Regions from separate parts of the Homo sapiens genome. Here region 2 is linked to region 1. The links are contacts of gene promoters, found by promoter capture Hi-C in blood cells and fetal thymus (Javierre and others, 2016). All regions are on one chromosome and are shown on one strand. Each heading gives the region's core, a stretch centred on a gene start or on the middle of the fragment in contact. The rest is flanking DNA. Distances are from core to core; before and after follow the strand shown.

The links. Contacts are between HindIII fragments. The CHiCAGO score rates a contact against its expected background, and 5 or more counts as called.
Region 2: a fragment that was not itself captured here is called in contact with the fragment with the promoter of SLC25A2 in region 1 in 1 of 17 cell types (M1 macrophages); the score reaches 5.5 in M1 macrophages.

The regions. Positions count from the first base shown.
Region 1 is chr5:141,302,121-141,305,534 of GRCh38, reverse strand. SLC25A2 (solute carrier family 25 member 2) reads left to right here and starts at 1,486. Exons shown (of 1, transcript NM_031947.4): 1 at 1,486-2,900. The coding sequence starts at 1,670. The coding sequence ends at 2,575. The HindIII fragment of the contact is 3,271 bases long and covers 999-3,414 here.
Region 2 is chr5:141,084,219-141,087,703 of GRCh38, reverse strand. It overlaps PCDHB@. Among named protein-coding and RNA genes, the nearest start is that of PCDHB1-AS1, 7.9 kb to the right of the region's middle. The HindIII fragment of the contact is 515 bases long and covers 1,304-1,818 here.

The DNA of each region.
Region 1 (3,414 bases), core at 237-2,736:
AAGTGGACACGGCGCTGGTGGGCGTGTCTTTTAGCATGCTAATGCATTATAATTGGCGTATAATGAGCAGTAAGGACGACCAGAGGTCACTTATTATGCCATCTTGATTCTGGTGGGATTTGGCTGGCTTCTTTACTGAAACCTGTTTTATCAGCAAGGTCTTTGTGACCCGTATCTTGTGCCGGCCTCCTATCTCATCCTGTGACTTAGAATGCCTGTCTTCCTGGGAATGCAGTCCAGTAGGTCTCGGCCTTATTTTACTCAGTCCCTAGTCAAGATGGAGTTGCTGTGGTTCCAGCGCCTCTGACAGTTTGTCTTCTCTACTTTATTTTTTGTAGGGGGTAAGGGGTGTCTCATTTTGCTGCCCAAGCTAGCCTTGAACTCCTAGGCTCAAATGAGCCTCCCTCCGCAGCCTCTCCAAGTGTTGGGATTACAGGCATGAGCCACCACACCTGGCCTGTCTTATCTACTTTAAAGCAGTTTTCTTGTAGATTGACCCTCTGAATTCAGGGTCTATTCAAGTGAGGGCATCTTCTTTTCGGGTTGTTTGTTTTTGTTTTTTGCATGGTAAGAAGCGTGGGATAGGCCGGGTGTGGTGGTTCATGCTTGTAAGCCCCAACACTTTGGGAGGCCAGTGGGTGGATTGCTTGAGTTCAGGAGTTCGAGACTAGCCTGGGCAACATGGCGAAACCCCGTCTGTACAATACAAAATTTAGCCAGATGTGGTGGCTTGCGCCTGTAGTCCCTCTAGTCTCAGCTACTCAGGAGGCTGAGGTGAGAGGATCGCCTGAGGCCAGGAGATTGGGGCTGCAGTGAGCCAGGATCGCGCCACTGAACTCCAGCTTAGGCGGCCGAGTGAGACCCTAAGTCAAAAAAAAAAAAAAGAGAGAAAAGAAAAGAAGCAGGGCTGACTGATTAGGACAGCATTTCTTTTGCCGCCAGCTGAACTGCGGCGTCTAGAGTTCCCGGCCATAATTGCAAGAATTTATCGAAAAGCTTTACATGTTTTCTTGGTTTTGGTTTTGTTTTGAGACAGAGCCTCACCCTTTCGCCCACCCTGGAGTGCAGTGTGCGATCATAGCTCACTGCAGCATCGACCTCCCGGGTTCAAGCGATCCTCGCTTCATTCTCCTGAATTGCTGGGACCACAGGCGCGCGCCATCGCGCCCGGGTATTTTTTCGTTTTTGTAGAAATGGAGTCTTGCCATATTGCCCAGGCTGGTCTCGATCTCCTGGGCTCAAGCGATCCTCCCGCCTCGGCCTCCCAAAGTGCTGGGATACAGGAGTGAGCCACCGCGCCCAGTCGCAGTACACTAAAAGTATTTATTCGGTCCGCGTCCCCCGCCTGCGGGTGCAGGGATGGCGGCTCCAGGCTGGAGGCGGCTGGGGGCCCGGCCAGTGCGCCAGGAGCCGCAGGAACGCTAGTGAGCCGCGCGCTGGGCCGGCAGCTGGGGGTTATTTTAGTGCGCGGGGAGGGGGCGGCCCGCGGCGGAGCGTAGGGTTGAGCGGCTTCCCCCGCACTGGGGTGAGAGCCCAGAACAGGCGGTAGAGCCACCCCACCACCCCCAACTCCATTCCCCGCGCTCGCTGCGGCTGGACGTGAAAAGCCGGTCTCACGCTCTGGGGAGTTAGTCGCCTTCCACTGGGACCCTCAGACGAGTGAGCGAACATGAAGTCCGGTCCTGGCATCCAAGCCGCCATCGACCTCACAGCGGGGGCCGCAGGGGGGACAGCGTGTGTACTGACTGGGCAGCCCTTCGACACAATAAAAGTGAAGATGCAGACGTTCCCTGACCTGTACAAGGGCCTCACCGACTGCTTCCTGAAGACATACGCTCAAGTGGGTCTCCGGGGCTTCTACAAGGGCACCGGCCCGGCACTTATGGCCTACGTCGCCGAAAACTCGGTCCTCTTCATGTGCTACGGGTTCTGCCAGCAGTTTGTCAGGAAAGTGGCTGGAATGGACAAGCAGGCAAAGCTGAGTGATCTCCAGACTGCAGCCGCGGGGTCCTTCGCCTCTGCATTTGCTGCACTGGCTCTCTGCCCCACTGAGCTTGTGAAGTGCCGGCTACAGACCATGTATGAAATGGAGATGTCAGGGAAGATAGCAAAAAGCCATAATACAATTTGGTCTGTCGTGAAGGGTATCCTTAAAAAGGATGGCCCCTTGGGCTTCTACCATGGACTCTCGAGTACTCTACTTCAAGAAGTACCGGGTTATTTCTTTTTCTTTGGTGGCTATGAACTGAGCCGATCGTTTTTTGCGTCAGGGAGATCAAAAGATGAACTAGGCCCTGTCCATTTGATGTTAAGTGGTGGAGTTGCTGGAATTTGCCTGTGGCTTGTCGTGTTCCCAGTGGATTGTATTAAATCCAGAATTCAAGTTCTTTCCATGTATGGGAAACAGGCAGGATTTATTGGTACCCTCTTAAGTGTTGTGAGAAATGAAGGAATAGTAGCCTTATATTCTGGACTGAAAGCTACTATGATTCGAGCAATCCCTGCCAATGGGGCACTGTTTGTGGCCTACGAATACAGCAGGAAGATGATGATGAAACAGTTGGAAGCATACTGAAGTGTCTTGGTGAACCTGGATCCGAGTCCATGAGTTTGAGGACTACAGTTCATCACAGGGTTCAGCAGAGTACAAGACCACTGTCTAATTTTGACTTCATGGGAATTTTGGTTTTATCTTCCCTTCTTCTACCCTAAATCTTAACTTTATGGAAGGGCCTCTATTTTACATCATATAATTTCTGCCCATAATTGTATTGAAATAGGAAAGTTGCTGCTCTTGCACTTGCTGGAATGTACAGGGTGGGCTGGTTGGCCCTATGTACCTAATCTGAAAAACTAAATATCGTTCTGTCAGGGCCTTTGCATAAAGCCATTTGTGTGTACATGCAGTTTGGATGATTCTATGTCGTGAGTGAAACAATTTAGTTCTATATATAATCTCAAATATCAGCCCCCCAAACCCAGAATTGACCATATTTTGTGAAGATAGGTATGAATGATTACTTAGGATCACTCTCTCTTTTTTTCTTTTTTTTTGGAGACAGAGTCTCACTCTGTCGCCCAGGCTGGAGTGCTGTGGCATGATCTTGGCTCACTGCAACCTCTGCCTGCCTGGTTCAAGCGATTCTCCTGCCTCAGCCTCCCGAGTTGCTGGGATTACAGGTGCCCGCCACCATGCCCAGCTAATTTTTGTATTTTTAGTAGGGATGGGGTTTCACCATGTTAGCCAGGCTGGTCTCGAACTCCTGACCTCAGGTGATCCACCCAGCTCAGCCTCCCAAAGTGATGGGATTATAGGCATGAGACACCGCACCCGGCCAGGATCTCTTTTAAAGTCTGCTTAACATGCGCACTACATTAGGCGGTTCAAGTTTTGAAACATCTTCATGTGGTGCT
Region 2 (3,485 bases), core at 312-2,811, 220 kb after region 1:
ATGAGTAACTCAAATGAGTTACATTTTTCCAAGGTGCTTTGAGACTCACAGATGGATCCAATTTCTATTTAGTACCCACTCCTGAGTCTTTTGATTTGAAAATGCAGTTTTTTAAATCTATAGAAACATGAATTACCCTCTCGCTCCCCATACCTCTCAAGTTCCCCATCCTAAGGCCCAAAATCTCTGCAAAATTAGCAATGAAGGAACCACTCTCCAGCACCTCTGGAACAGAATTCTGCAGTTCAGTATCCTGAATGGTACATGCTTAGTAAAACAGAATCACACTTTGTTTTAGACTGGGCTTTAAGTATTACATTATTCCTTCTTCTAACACCTTCCAGCAAATATGGTCCTACACAAACTCTGATCACCCTAATGTTTCTATTACTTATGCCACCAGAATCTTAGACATCCAATACAACTTTCACAGACAGGGTAATATAATATGAAACATACAGCACTGTATTTGCAATCTGCTTTAACCACCATTTGAGCCTGCAGTGCCATTATAGGACCGCCCCCCACCCCCCGTCAGTGCATTAAACTCTCTAGAAAGAAAAAAAGTATTTGAGAAAGGCAAATGAAAACACCAAACACTTTGTATTTATGTAATTATTATCCAGTGTATTGAATAATGTCTGTTTTCATTTTATCAGCAACTATCATAAATATATTAAATATCAACAAATAGGTCTTATTTGAGGCATATTCTGTTGTATCTTCTTTAATTTTCCTAAGCCATACAGGAGAGTATTAAACACTGACATAAAGAAAAAAAAGATAAGATTGTTTTGTCGGTCTGTTTTACATGACATTTAATGTACTGGATATGCTATGATATTAATTGCCAAAGAATTAATCATTTTTGATGTTTAATAAGGAAACAGTAAAAATTAACAAACACAAATTTAACATTGACATAAATAAGCTACACAGCAACTCAGTTGATTTACGTCTTAAATAACGAAAAAGACATTTATTTCTACAGTTTTTTTTCTTGTAGTTGTATATCTCCATTTGATTTCGTGGTCATCAATATCACCAAAATCATCAAATGACTATTTCAAATAAAAAGTTAAAACCATATATTAATAATAGTAATCAAGTAAATAGTTACTTAAACTAAGTAAATGGAGACCAGTCCTGCTGAAAAGTAGACTATCACAACTTGTCAGCCATCATTTACGAAATATCAAGAAAAGCAAAAGATGACTTTAAAATAAATAGCTTGACCTTCTTTGAGAAGTTACGAAGACTATCATTTTATGGATTGAAGTGGGATGAATTTCCTTGTCAAGCTTCAGAATATCTGCTAGGACAGTCTACTCAAAGTTTTAGGGGTAATTTACCTTTGAGAAAGATCAAAGGAAACTAGGCATGAGCAGAAAAAAATGCGTTCCTTTTCTGTGCTTAACAATAAAGAGGAAATACACTACTAGATTCTAAATAGACCTTTGTGAAATAGATAAAAAGATAAAAATAGCTAAGCCATCAATATCTGTTAACTGTTAATGAACAATTAGCTATGCTTCAGAAAAAAAACACGATGGAAATTAGAGCCATAAAATAACCAAAACATTCAGAACGGTGCTGTTATTCCTCTACCTTTTATCCAGAATCCAAAAGGAAGAACGCCAAGGATGATAGCTGTCTCTACCTACTGTCTTGTTTTGAGCTTCCTGGAACCTAATTTCATTGGAAATACAGTGATGTTGCGTGTAGCTCTCTTTTCTGGTTTGCATTATTAGGTTGTCAGATTATGGAATATTTTAAATATCCAATGAAAAGAAAACTCTGGTAGGAAGGATCAAAGCTTTTTCTTGTTTTGTTTTGTTTTTGTTGTTGTTGTTGTTTTATCTCAGGGTGCTGAGATTATGGTTCTTAAACAGATGAAGTCTTCCCAGAAGTGCTCCAGGATGAGGCAGATAAGTGTCAACATGACCAATTCTATGTGATTGTCATCCAATGGCATGGTCTTCCACCGTCCTTCACATGAAGAAACAATTTCTGAAACTATTTCTGCTTGTAATTGCCTGAGTATTTGCCACGTGGCACTGAAATTTCCTGGTAATTCTCTTGCAGTGGATGCTTATGATGCATGGGGTATCAGTGGTATTTAAAATGTTCTGCTAGCATTTAAAATGCTCTCCAGAGGTTGCAGAATTCAGTGAGCCTGGAGAATTCTGAGAGCCGATTCATAATTATTTACTCAGACTAAATCTTCAGCCGGTTGCTGTGAGACCTGCATCTCAAAGATTGTCATTGATTGTCATGACTTGGACTTAGGAGGTCTCAGATATCTACCATTCTTCTCTGGGAGAGTTAAACTTACCTTGGGCTGTGGTTCATCCAGCGATTTTTTTCACGCGTATGGACAAATTACTTACCCCAATATTGCACAGCACATTATTGTGAACATGGAAATTGAAAATGAGTGTGTAGTTTCCAATGATGGAAAATTTACCCAAACCTCATACATGTTCCTGGTGCACATTCTGGAACATTCAGAAGAATTTTTCAAAGGAGGAAACGGTTACACCTCAGACACAGATTTTTCTCAAAAGACAAATTTTTTTTTTTTTTAAATACAGGTAATTCTTGGAAATGCAGGGCTCCTATAGGTCCGATTTTCTACTTGAGAGCAAGGACTCTTCTGTGGGTCGATCTGAAATATTATTTGGTCTCTTTGGAAACTATCCTGCTCCAGTCTGTCCTCCCGCCGCTCCCCTTTCCGCCGCCAGCGCCAATCTCCAGAAACCCTGACCATAAAAAAGCAGTTTTCCTTTTCCTGGGCCGCCTGCGCTACACCCGGGAAGAAAATGAAAACCCACCACCTGCGTTTTCTGCCAGATTTTTTTCTCGCACAATTTCCTGTATATCCTCTGAGTGCATTGCCTTTAGTAAATGAAGTCTTCGGAAATCCTGTAAGACTTCCAAACATTTGTGTAGTCCCCATTCGTTTGAAGAAAGCTCTAAAATCTGAGCTCGCTGCGGACGTTTTCCAACTCGTATCTGTTCCCAGCACCTTTCAGATTTTGTCTTTTCTAAGATGGAGTCTGCAGGCAAATGCAGGGCTCCTCCTCCTCCTACTTTTTAGCCTGTAGTGCCACCAGGCGTCCGAACTGAAAACCTGGGCTGTACAGCGCTTTCCTGCGGAAACTGTCAAAATCTGTTCATATTCACATCTAGGGGCGGAATTCTCACCTCTTGAGTTTTAATTACTTCTCCAATATTTAGTTTACTTAATGTGAACAAAAACAATGGTTGTTTATTATCATAATATCAGCTGTGAGATTTCCTTTGAGAGGAACCGAATTGGATTTCTTTCATTTCAATCAAGCCAGTCATTTGGCCATAAATTCATTGAACTGATTAATTCTTCGCAGGTATTTTTTACACACAGATTATATTCAAGCACTGTAAAAGACATTGGGGATATAAAGTTGAGTAAAGTCTGGTGCCTACACCGCAGGAGGTTAGAA